Linked DNA regions of Homo sapiens: all the other regions are linked to region 1. Evidence: promoter capture Hi-C in 16 types of primary human blood cells and fetal thymus (Javierre and others, 2016). All regions are on one chromosome and are shown on one strand. The core of a region is centred on a gene start or on the middle of the fragment in contact, and the rest is flanking DNA. Distances in the headings are between cores, read along the strand shown.

Evidence for each region. Contacts are between HindIII fragments. The CHiCAGO score rates a contact against its expected background, and 5 or more counts as called.
Region 2: a fragment that was not itself captured here is called in contact with the fragment with the promoter of AGXT2 in region 1 in 1 of 17 cell types (naive CD8 T cells); the score reaches 5.7 in naive CD8 T cells.
Region 3: a fragment that was not itself captured here is called in contact with the fragment with the promoter of AGXT2 in region 1 in 3 of 17 cell types (activated CD4 T cells, naive CD8 T cells and total CD8 T cells); the score reaches 7.8 in activated CD4 T cells.
Region 4: a fragment that was not itself captured here is called in contact with the fragment with the promoter of AGXT2 in region 1 in 1 of 17 cell types (M1 macrophages); the score reaches 5.4 in M1 macrophages.

What each region holds. Positions count from the first base shown.
Region 1 is chr5:35,046,406-35,049,540 of GRCh38, forward strand. AGXT2 (alanine--glyoxylate aminotransferase 2) reads right to left here and starts at 1,544. Exons shown (of 14, transcript NM_031900.4): 1 at 1,400-1,544. The coding sequence starts at 1,487. It also overlaps a transcript of PRLR not described here. The HindIII fragment of the contact is 8,089 bases long and covers 1-3,135 here.
Region 2 is chr5:35,985,196-35,988,330 of GRCh38, forward strand. The region is part of intron 2 of UGT3A1 (UDP glycosyltransferase family 3 member A1); the gene reads right to left. Among named protein-coding and RNA genes, the nearest start is that of UGT3A1, 4.6 kb to the right of the region's middle. The HindIII fragment of the contact is 1,850 bases long and covers 682-2,531 here.
Region 3 is chr5:35,968,805-35,971,939 of GRCh38, forward strand. All of the region lies in intron 2 of UGT3A1 (UDP glycosyltransferase family 3 member A1), which reads right to left. Among named protein-coding and RNA genes, the nearest start is that of UGT3A1, 21 kb to the right of the region's middle. The HindIII fragment of the contact is 3,790 bases long and covers 1-3,135 here.
Region 4 is chr5:35,624,702-35,627,836 of GRCh38, forward strand. All of the region lies in intron 1 of SPEF2 (sperm flagellar 2), which reads left to right. Among named protein-coding and RNA genes, the nearest start is that of SPEF2, 8.4 kb to the left of the region's middle. The HindIII fragment of the contact is 207 bases long and covers 1,466-1,672 here.

The DNA of each region.
Region 1 (3,135 bases), core at 294-2,793:
GCAGTCCAAACAGGATTGGAAGACTAGGGGAGGATAGACAGGGCCTGGTAGAATCTCTTCGAGTTCGGAGTCAGATAGACCTGGCTTTGAATCCCAAGTTATCACATACATGTTTCTGCCTTTGACCACATTTCTTAGATATTCCTTATTCTCTTGTCTCCTCATTTGTGGAATGAGATAATAGTACTCACTAACAAGTTTGGTTGAAGATAAAAGGAGATAATGCATTTAAAGCATCATGCATGTGTCAAGTTTCAAAAAACTGCAATTTTCAGGGGTAAGAAAGCGAAGAGGAGAGGAAGGAAGGAGGGTGAAAGGGAAATATGAGGAGAAAATGAAGGCAAAGTTGGTCACAATGGGGAATGTAAAATGGTCCCCTGTACCTGTTTACGGCCCGTGAAGCACAGGCACATAAATGTACAGACAGTTGCTTAATCTCATGTTTGCATGAGGGAATTTGCTGAGGAGGAGGTGAGGCTCTCGTGAAACAAGATCCATGTGAAAATCACAAGCATATAGGATATTACTCATAAAGCCACCAATGTCTGGTTACCCCACATCTCCTCATATTTTCTGTTCTTGCTGCAGAGAGGAGAGTCTGAGTAGATGGGGAGGGCCTGGGGTCAAGCCCTGGCTTGGATGACTCTGGGTGAATCACAGCACTTGTTGGCAATTGAGAGCGTGGTCTCACTTCCTAGAGGCATGATGAAAATTCATGCAGATGCTTTACATCTTTTAAAATAGTCATCCTAGCCTGGTGCAATGGCTTAGGCCTGCAATCCGAGCACTTTGAAAGACTGAAGTGAGAGGATTGCTTGAGCCCGGGAGTTCGAGACCAACTTGAGCAACATAGTAAAACCCCATGTCTACAAAAGTTAAAAAAGAAAAATAGCTAGGCATGGTGGCATGTGCCTATAGTTCCAGCTACTCAGGAGGCTGAGGTGGGAGAATTATTTGAGCCTTGGAGGTCAAGGCTGCAGTGAACCATGATCACACCACTGTACTCCAACCTAGGTGACAGAGGGAGACCCTGTCTCAAAAAAGAAAAAATAGAAATCATCCTTGGGCATCTGTAAATTGAAGTCACACTCTATTTTGATTGCTTTCCTTTGGTTTTTAAAAATATTGAAGCTGAGATAGCATGTCATGTTGAAATTGTGTATAGTCGGGTTTCATTATCCACGAATTTCATTTCAAAACAAAAAGGAGCATTACAAAATATTGGCTATGAAAATGGGGCATTGACTCAGGGTGAGAACCTGTGTGTCAAAAACATGCCTCATCTCTAAGACCTCACCCAGGTCTAACATTCCAGAATCCCAGGCAGCAGCCTTCGGAGCTCAAGTCTTACCCTCTCGCTGATCCTCTACTGACCCACGTCCCCCTGGTTTCCACTTACGGCTCAGGAAAGGATGCATCTCAAGGATCCTGGGAGCGGAAGTGACCAGGCACAAGGGTCTCAGCAAATGTCTCCAGATTAGAGTCATTTCTCCCACTCAGAAAGCCAACCCCCATGGAAGCAGATTGGAGGCCGGGCTCTAACTGCTCACTATCCTGCTGGACTTTGAGATTAAGATGGGGAGGAGGCGCTAAAAGGGGAATCCTGGAGTGGTGACTGCCCATGGCTTCAGGCAAGCCCCAGAGCTCTCTATTTCTAGTAACAGTGCCTTCAAGGGGGAGAAAAAGAGAGTGAGGAAAAGAGATAGAATGAAAATAGGAAGGAGAGAGAGAAGAGGAGAGAAAAGAAAGGAAAAGAAGAGAACAGAAGGGAAGAGGAAAGAAAGCAGGCAGATAAAGCAAAGGTCATCTGACAAGTTCTGTTAGTTTAATATTCCATCGGAGTTTCATCCGGGTACACTTTTCTCTGCAGGAGGGTGGTGCTGGGTGTGGGAGAAGGATCAGGACATGGTTGAAGGGGTCGGAGATTGTGAAACGAGGTATGTGACTAAGAGAGGAAAAAGGAAGATATGCATGAAGTGAATGAACAAATAAATTGGTTTTGGGGGTCTTAGAGAAAGAGAGGAGAAAACAATGGGGAAGGAGCCATTCCAAAGAAAAGCTGAGAGTACCAAATAGCTAGGTAAGGTTCTGGACAGCTGTGGATCATCTTATGTGTCTGAGGAAGGCAAAAGGTTGAGAGCTAAGGAGTTAGTGTGCCTTATTTTCATTATTTCTTAAATTCCTATTTATCCCACTCCAGCCTCCCCTTACCTTCAATCCCCATAAGCAAGTATTTAGCATGCTTATATATATCCTTTTGTTGGAACGCATTCTTGTAAAATGTGTATTGTTTAGGGTGAATGCAGTTTTAATTTATGTAAATATGTGTAATATGTCTTTTTTCTTTTCAGTTAGAACCATGTTTTTAAGATCCAACCAGGTTGCGAAGAGTACATCTCTTCTAGGTTTCCCACTGCTTCAGAATGGGGGACCACGTGCTTTACATGGCAGTGCCTAAGGGGGACAGTGACAAAGCTGATTGCAACTAGGGGGTCGAGGGACTGGGGATGGGTAGATATCATTAATCTTGGGTCACCCTGTAAGGGAGACAACTGACTTGGCCACATCCTTCACAAACACCTGCATAACAACCTTTTACTCCAAATGCCCATAGGAGGTGAAGGCACTAGGTAAGCAGAGGGAGTATGTTACATTCAATATAATTGTCCCTTTTTGTGTGGGTTTCCAGCTCCCAGTCAATTCTGCTTTGGGGGCAGTAGGGAGTGATCATATGAGCTGGCTGGTCACGTGCTGCAGGAGTAATCCAAGTCAGTGAGGCCAGTGGACACACAGCATCTCCCTGGGGTGCACAGTCTGTCCTGTGGTTGGACAGAGGGGAGAAAATGTTGAGTTCCTGAATTCTGGTATATGCTCTTCAGCTCTACTGGACTGTGGTCAATGTTGCCTTTGTGAACACCGCAAGTCTTCCTTGACTTGAGATTTTTCTTGGTCTGTAAGATTTGAGATTTTTGTAATGAGAGGCACCCAACATCAAGGGGTCACCTGGAGTGGGGAAGAAAAACAGTACATTCTGAATAACTTCTAGAGGGAAAGTGGGAGGTTATACCTCTTTTATTTAAAAAGAAAATAAATTATTCGGATTACCATAACATAATATGTACTTCTGTTAAACAA
Region 2 (3,135 bases), core at 357-2,856, 940 kb after region 1:
AAAGAAACTGAAGAGGTCACAATAAATAGAAAGCTATTCCTTGTTCATGGACTAGAAGAATAAATATTGTTAAAATGCCAATACTACCTAAAGCAAACGTACAAATTCAATGCAATTATTATCAAAATATCAATGACATTATTCACAGAAATAGAAAAAAATTATAAAATGTATATGGAACCATAAAAGATCCTGAGTAACCAAAGCAATCCTGAGCAAAAAGATGAAAGCCAGAGGCATCAAACTACATGACTTCAAAATATACTGCAAACGTATAGTAACCAAATCAGCACGGTACTGGCATGAAAACAGACACATAGACCAATGGAACAGAAGAGCCCAGATAAAAACCTACACATGTATAGCAACCTTATCTTCAACAAAGAGGCCAAGAACATATAATGAGGAAAGGACAGTCTTTACAATAAATGGTGCTGGAGAATCTGTAAAACTGGATATACGCAAAGAACAAAACCAAGCCACTGTCTCTCACCATACAAAAAAATAAGGTCAGAGTGGATTTAAAACTTAATTCTAAGACTTAAAACTATGAAACTACTAGAAGAAGACATTGAGGAACTATTCCAAGACATTGGTCTCAGCAAAGACTTTTTTAGTTAGACATCAAAAGTACAGGCAATCAAAGCAAAAATAGACAAATGGGATTACATCAAGCCAAAAAGCTTCTGCACAGCAAAGGAAACAGTCAACAAAATGAAAAGACAACCCAAAGAATGGAGAAAATAATTGCAAACTATTCTTTTCACAATGGATTAATAACCAGAATATATAAACAGCTCAAACAACTTAATAGCAAATAAATAGTTAAAAATGGGAAAAAGATCTGAATAGACATTTCTCAAAATAACCAACAGATACATAAGAAAATGTTCACCATTATTTATCCTCAGAAAAATGCAAATCAAAATCACAATGTGATATCATCTCATCACAGTTAAAATGGCTTTTATCTGAAAAACGGAATAATGAATGCTGACACGAAAGTCAAGAAAGGGGAACCCTCATACACTGTAAATTAGTACAGCTGCTATGGAAAACTCTATCAAGATTCCTCAAAAAACTAAAGACAGAACTACCATATGATGCAGCAATTCCACTACTAGATATATAATCCAAAAGAAAAAAAGTCAATATATCGAAGAGATAGCTTCATTCCCATGTTTATTGCAGCACTGTTTACAATAACCAAAGTAAAGCAATCAACCTTAGTGCACATCAGTGGACAATGCATAAAGAAAATGTGATTTAAATCCACAATGAAATATTATTCAGCTATAGAAAATAATGAAATTGTGTCATTTACAGCAATATGTATTGAATTAGAGGCCATTATATTAAGTGAAATAAGCCAAGCATAGAAAGAAAAATATCCAATGTTCTCACCCATATGCAGTAGCTTACAAAAGAGGATCTTATGAAAGTAGAGAGTAGATTGGTGATTACTAGAGACCGGAAATGGTAGTGGACAGGGGATATGGATAGAGGTTGATTAATGAGTACATATCTATAGCTTTACAGAAGAAATAAGATCTAGTGTTTGATAGATCAGTAGGGTGACTATAGTTTACAATAATCTATTGTATGTTTCAAAGTAGCTAGAAGAGAATAGTTTGAATGTTTCTAGAATAAAGAAAAAACAAATATTTAAGGTCATGCATATCCCAATTACACTGATTTGATCCTTACAAATTATATAAATGTATTATCACATGCACCCTGAAAATATGTACATCTATTATGCAGCAATAAAAATGTATAAATTTTTTAAAAAGGAAAAAGAGTCAGAACCTCAAATAATTATGTTCTCCTTTAGGCTGCTATCCTATACGTGAGATTTCAGTTATGAGTTGGAAAAATACTGCGCGTGAGCACAAAAAACCTACACTTCTTCAGTATCCCTGAAGTCATTTATTTATTAAAGTTTTAAATAAGGAAGTGATGGAAACATGTAGTTAACAAATGTACAAGTATTTCAATACACTGATTTGGCTATCAGACTATCAAAAACAACCCAATCAAGTGCTTTTCCTACTTTCAGAGCTCTACCCAAATACTACTGCAAACTAGAAGGAAGAATATTTCATCTCAACCGCAGAAATGTCCAAAGATTGAGGAATACTGAAAGAAACTCTAGAACACTTGAACCCCAACACTTGAACCCAAAGATAAAGCTGAACAGATTCATGAATCCACAGAATCATTTGTAGATTTTGGTGTGCATGGTCTGTTAAAGTAGTGGGTCTATAGCTTTCAGCAGTTTGTCAAAAGCTATTGGAACCACCAAAATAAGATGACCATATATTACTGCTGAGAAATCAGACACTATAAGGCAGATACAAAGGAAAATGTATAAAAAGGATATTCAGTGAACATTCCAAAACTCAATCTAGAAGGTGATCAAAAGTGCATTAAAACTATCTAAACATTAACAAGGCCTGAAGTTTACCTTCAGAATTTTATAATGACTCAGACTTTTTCTCCCAAGATGGTTAATTTTTGATGTTGTTCAAAGCTTCAGAAACCCTCAGATTGAGAAACCCAGAGCCTGAAGACCCAGATTCGCCCAACTCTGTTATTAATTTTTCATTTGACATTAAACAAATTTTTTCAGTTCCCTGGACCTCCGTCTCCTTGTCTGTCAACAGGAATTTATGAGTTTCATTTTAGTTACAATTCTTTGGAGGAAATGAATCAATTAAAAACTTCTGACATCATTATGTACAACTTATGCATAGCTACAAATTTTTCAAGCATATGAGGTCGTGTTAATCATATATTCTCATCTTAGTTAATAATTAAGAGGCTCCCTGGGAAATCTTTCATAAATTTCAAGTCTCTCAAGAATAGAAAGTAACCTGTGGGATAAGAAGAACTTCTATACTTACATAATAAAAGCCTGAAATATGGCTAAACATTTCTGTTCAAAAAAACTTTAAGCCATACCATTGTGTAGTATTCCTCAAAATAATTAATAATAATGTGTGGAGAGTTGTCTAGAATAGAATGACACCCAGGTAAGTGGTAAAATACAGAAGTATGTTATGTGAAGTCTTAGTCTACAGACCCAATAAGAATTCCAATACTTAACATGAACACACATCCACACACACATTT
Region 3 (3,135 bases), core at 215-2,714, 920 kb after region 1:
TACTAATGAGAACTCCAAACCAAGCAAGCCAGGCCAAAGTGGGAGAATCCTCACCTCAATTCAAGTTTCAATCAGAAGTTTCAATAATTTGCATTGTGAGACAGGAATGACAAACAGGGATCCTCTTTTCAGTAGCCCTGGATCATGTGTCTCAAACCAAAGCTATCTGTATGTCTCAGATGGAATTGTGTTTCTCAACTACAGCATGAGCTGTGGTTGACAGTAACTCAGTGGAATAACTCTTACCCTATGAGCACTGGTTATGTGTCCCAATCATATATCACCTCCCACACACACACCATTGTAAAGAGCACTCAGGGTTAAGACTGACATCAGTGCAATATATGATCCCTCCAAATGGTGTGAAGAATGGTAATCATTGTGTGGCATGCTCACATCCACAATCCTAAAAATAGATGGTCCACTGGGACCTCAGAAAATGCCTTTGCTACTATTGCTGATTATATCTCTGTAGCTAAAAATGCTCCAGATGAACAGAATTATTAGGAAAAGCACCCATGACAACACTATACAGCCAAAGAGATCCTTCAAACCCAATTTAAGCCTTGGGTCTCTCAAAATTACCAGAAAGAAGGTCTCTAACCTTGCTGATACTCATTGGAACTCTCTCAGAAAGAAACTTACAAAGATGAGCATGTTAGAAAGGACACCCATCCACCCACCACCACCAAAGTACACCTGATAACAACCAAAAAGAGAAAGAGAGAATTAGGTTAGTCAAAAGGGGTGGGGAGGGGGACGGGTGGGATGCAAGAACAAAAACTAAAACAAAGGTCTACAACTTAACCCTTTGGAAATTTAACATTTATTTTTTAACAGAAAAATTAAAAGGACACTGATTGGCTATTTTCTCTCTACATTGTAAGTTCTAGATTAACATCAGATCAAATACACCCCTGCGAACCGTAATAACCTTAATCAACAATTGGGCAAAAGTTACAGGTATATCAGAATATTTCACTAAATTTAAGTAATATTACCTCTGTACTCTTAAGGAGTTATCCAATATAATATAGACGGCAAATATATATGCCCCATCTTAAGCATTGGTACTAAATACCTGTATTAGTCTGTTTTCATGCTGCTGATAAAGACCTACTTGAGACTGGATAATTTATAGAGGAAAAAGGATTTAATAGACTTACAGTTCCACATGGCTGAGGAGACCTCACAATCATGGCAGAAGGCAAGGAGGAGCAAGTCATGTCTTACATAGGTGGCAGCAGGCAAAGAGAGAGAGAGCTTGTGCAGGGAAACTCTCTCTTATAAAACCATCATTTCTTGGCCGGGCACTGTGGCTCACTCCTGTAATCCCAGAACTTTGGGAGGCTGAGGCAGGCAGATCATGAGGTCAGGAGATCAAGACTATCCTGGCTAATACGGTGAAACCCCATCTCTACTAAAAATACAAAAATAATTAGCCAGGCGTGGTGGCACACACCTGTAGTCCCAGCTACTCAGGAGGCTGAGGCAGGAGAATCACTTGAACCTGGGAGGCAGAGGTTGCAGTGAGCTGAGATAGCGCCACTGCACTCCTGCCTAGTGACAGAGTGAGACTCCATCTCAAAAAAAAAAAAAAGCCATCAGATCTCGTAAGACTTATTCCCTATCACAAGAACGGCACAGGAAAGACCTGTCCCCATGATTCAATTACCTCCCACCAGGTCCATCCCACAACACGTGGGAATTCGAGATAAGATTTGGGTGGGGACACAGCCAAACCATATCAATACTCCATAGTCTTAAGACTCATTTCCTAAAATATTCCATTGCATTCTGGGCATGGCTACTCTTAACTAACAATTAAAAAACTAACATAAAATTGTTTCTTTGGCACTTAGAATTGGCTTAACAAAAAGGGATGCTGTGGATCTGCTTCAGTATATTAAAATTATTAACAATGCCCAAAATAGATTAAAGCAGGGCCTTTACGGATTAAATTCCATTATGAAAGATCTATTTAGAAAAGGGTTAATTGTCTCCATTCTTTCTCCCTTTAAAATCCCAATTTGGACTATTTTTAAACCTAGCAAGAATTAATGATGCCTCACAACATTTTACTACAGCCTTAATGCCAGGATCCATCACATTTAGAACCTCATACCCATGGTTATTAAAAATTGCTTACTACATTTGAATACTAACAAATACTTTGCAATCATAGATTTGACAAATATGTTCCATTCAAGGCCTATTTCAATAGGATCTCAGTCAGTTTCCCTTTATCTTTAAAAGGCCATAAATCACCTGTAACTGGATGACTGTGGGGAACCTCAATATCCTGGCCCACAATCACTGCCAGCAAGACCATCATCATATCCAACTTTCCCTAGGAGCAGTTATGACATTATAATGAGGATGTCCTCCTTGGAGGAGACTCATCAAGCACAATCATTCAAGACATACACAGGGTGCGCTTATTCAAGACATATTATATATACAAAGGAACGCACAAAAAGGGATGTGCCATTGCCACACACAAAGTAGAAGGCATGGTGCTTCAGTTACATTCCTGAGAAGAATTGCTTGGTAAGTTTAACAATGCTCCATCATTACCAACATTCCATTCCCAGCATAATAGCATGAGTAACTCTCCAGACACTGTTCACACCAAAACTGGTGAAAATGACACACGCATACACACACACACACACACACACACACACATACACAAATGTTGGAAATGGTTCTAGGGCATACAGAAAAAGAAGAAATATTTATTCAAGAAAATCTACCAAAATTCACTGAAAACTGAGCCTAGGGTCTGTGGTATTTGAATGAAGACCCACTCTCTCCCTTTACTCAACCAACCCTGAGAGGCCAATGTCCTCTGACTGCTCCCACCAACTCCCAAACTGCAGCCAAGAAGGCAGGCTCCCTCCCTCTTGCTCCAACCCCAGCTCTCAGCCAGAGAGGTATTTTTCTGGGAGGGGCAAACTGTAAACATTTCTCGTCCTGCCCTTTTCTGCCTGTTGCTGTAGCTAAGTTCTGGCCAAATGTGTCCAAGAGGTGGGGGCTCCCTTCTACCAACCACCCCACTTGTGAAGCATGAGCTCGACCTTGGGCACAGCACTGTTGCAAATAGTGGGGTGCCACTTAACCATGACCCACCAT
Region 4 (3,135 bases), core at 319-2,818, 580 kb after region 1:
TCTCAACTCACTGCAACCTCCGCCTCCTGGGTTCAAGCAATTCCCCTGCCTCAGCATCCCGAGTAGCTGGGGCTACAGGCATGTGCCACCATGCCCGGCTACTTTTTGTATTTTTAGTAGAGACAGGGTTTCATCATATTGGCTAGGCTGGTCTCGAACTCCTGACCTCGTGATCTGCCTGCCTCAGCCTCCCAAAGTGCTGAGATTACAGGCGTGAGCCACGGCATCCAGCCCTGTCTTCTTATTTTATACGTTTTAGTGTATCAGTCCTAGTGTATACACTTTTTCTTCAGCTTTTTCTTTCTTTGTCTAATTTCCTATATGTATTCTTTTTTCTTTTTCTTTTAATTTTTTTCTCCAAGTTTCCCCTTTATTGCTTTTATCATTTGCTGTATTCGTCACTCACTGTTCTAGTTTCTGCTGATGTGGTACATGGTAAATCTGAAGTGTCTTATGCATAAAAAGCTTCAGACAGATATTTTGATACTTACAGATTTTTTATAAACTACTCTGACAATGAAGTACATTAAGTGTTTACTATTGTTCTTTAACCTTTATACTATAAACACCTCTATTTTATCCATATCATAATTGCCTTATTAATATGCCATGCCATTTCAAAGGAAATGGGTAATGATTTTATTTTTCTGGTGACCTTTTTGTAGAAAATGGTTTGTTACAGACCGTTTGTCAGCCACACTGAAGATGAAGGAAACGGATTTAGTATTCCCCAGTTATTCCTGGGCTAGACTTTCAGCATTCAGTCAACGTGAACAACAGGCACAGTGCAAACCCCAGAGGGAGGCAGGAAGGGAAAGAGATTACCTGAAGGTAACATAGCAACAGCTCTTGAACAGAAAGCAATAAGCCAAAAATTGGGACAAGACCCTGATGGCGTAGGAATAGAAAGACACAGATACATCCATAGATGAATAATGGTTCTATGTCCAGTGGCTCTTTAGAAAACTAAGGGAAGAATAGGGATAGGCTAGGGAGGAGAGAAGGGAAGAGGCAGACAGAAGAAAGCAACAGACAGAAGAGGTGAAAGACACAGCTAGAGCACCCTGGGTGGCACATTGAGGGTCATGGTGGCAACGAGAGCTTTGGGGTCTGTAAGGGAAGGAGAAAGCTGCAGTGACACAGGAGGAGGTGGCACACTTTTGCCCATTGGAGCAGAAGGAACCCTTTGGATTTCAGTTGCTTTAAAGACTACTGAGGTATGAAGCCGGAAGACACTTGCTGAATGACAGATGACATTTAGTATAAGATCAAGCCAATCTTCATTTTAGTAGCATCGAAAGGCATTATGATATTCAAATGGTGTTGCGTTAAAGTCGGAAAAAATCAGTGCCTAGGTTATGAAGCTCAAGCTTAACTTGTGCTGTAAGGTGTTCCAGGCGGTACAATAGATCTAGCTGAGTTATAGAGCTCAGGTATGCCATGAATTTCAAATTCTCCTGCTGGAAGCTTTAGGACATACTCTTCTCTAAGTATATTTTCTCAAGAGTTGCTTCAGTGTTTCACATTAAGACATAGCTTCGGAAGGACAGATATGACTGATAGGAAGGGCATCAAACCATCAACTCTGAAAGAATGTATCATGGGTTTAGAGTGAGATCATTCTGCCCTGAATAGTTTTAAAATGATGATAAAACTGGTCTGTTTGTGGAAAAGCTTACTAAAATCCACTAATAGGTGCCAGACTGTGGACTTTAAGAATAGATGCAATGTGTCTGTTCTCACATGAACTATAGCTGAACACAAGGTTATGTGATTGGAAGCTTTCATTTTCCTAGGGCTTATAAAAGTTTCATTTCTTTACTTGTTGCTAAAGTGATCCATAGACAAAAAAAGCATTGCTTCCCCTTAATGTTTTTTACCTTTTATTTTTTCTATTGCATATAAAAATTATGTAACCATAATTAATAGATTCTAATTCTAGACAGTTCAAGAGCTCACCCTGAGTACATAGAATCAGTGGGAACCATTGACATCTTTTTAACTACCTTTATTATTGTATTGACTCAACTTAAGGATTGAGGTATTACTCTGAGTATAAAGGGTTTTGAGAACAGATATTAAGAAAGTCTTAGAGAAAACTGTGTTCTGGTATCAGACATGCAAAAAGTATTATGATAGGGTGTAATCTTTGGAGTGAGGACTGCACAGTGGCTGTTATGGAGCAACTTAGCTCAACTTCCTACAACCACACAACCAAGCATCGCTTCTACAAATCATGAAGAAATGTTATTTCTTCACTGTCAATTAGCCACCTCATTATTAGTCAGACAGGTAAAATAGAACAATCTGGCAAAACTGAATTTGTGATACTGCAATGACATATAATATTTTAACCGATGTTAAAATATTATATTTAATATAATATGTTATATTATATGTTAACCTGATGGAAGCAGGTTGAATATCTGTGGAGGATTTTGAAGTAATTTGAGAGATGATAGCTTTGGCCTATGATAATATAATTTATTTTGTATATAATCCTTAAATATCATGTAAGTCTATATATTTTACTTTATAAGAAAAATACAAGTAACTCAAAACTAAGAACATTTTTTAAAAAAGCAAATCCTATTGAACACTTAAAAATTTTTTTTCTCGGCTGGGCACGGTGGCTCATGCCTGTAATCCCAGCACTTTGGGAGGCCGAGTCAGGTGGATCATGAAGTCAAAAGATCGAGACCAACCTGGGCAACATGGTGAAACCCCCCTCTCTACTAAAAATACAAAAATTTGCTGGGTGTGGTGGCACACACCTGTAATCCCAGCTACTCGGGAGGCTGAGGCAGGAGAATCGCTTGAACCCAGGAGTCAGAGGTTGTAGATCAGGCCACTGCACTCAGAGGTTGTAGATTAGGCCACAGCCTAGGCGACACAGTGAGACTCCATCAAAAAATAAAATAAAATTCTGCACTTATCATTATGTGCCTACTATGTGGCAGGCATGGCACCCAGCAATTCTCAAACACTGCTGCAAAAGAGAGCTATTAATATTAAATAGCTCTCTGATATAAGATATAGATATGGTTATCTTTGTTCTAGACATGAGGCTGAAACTCAGGAAGATGAAGCAGCTTGCCCAACGTCACACAGCTAGTAAGGGGCAGAGCCAAGATT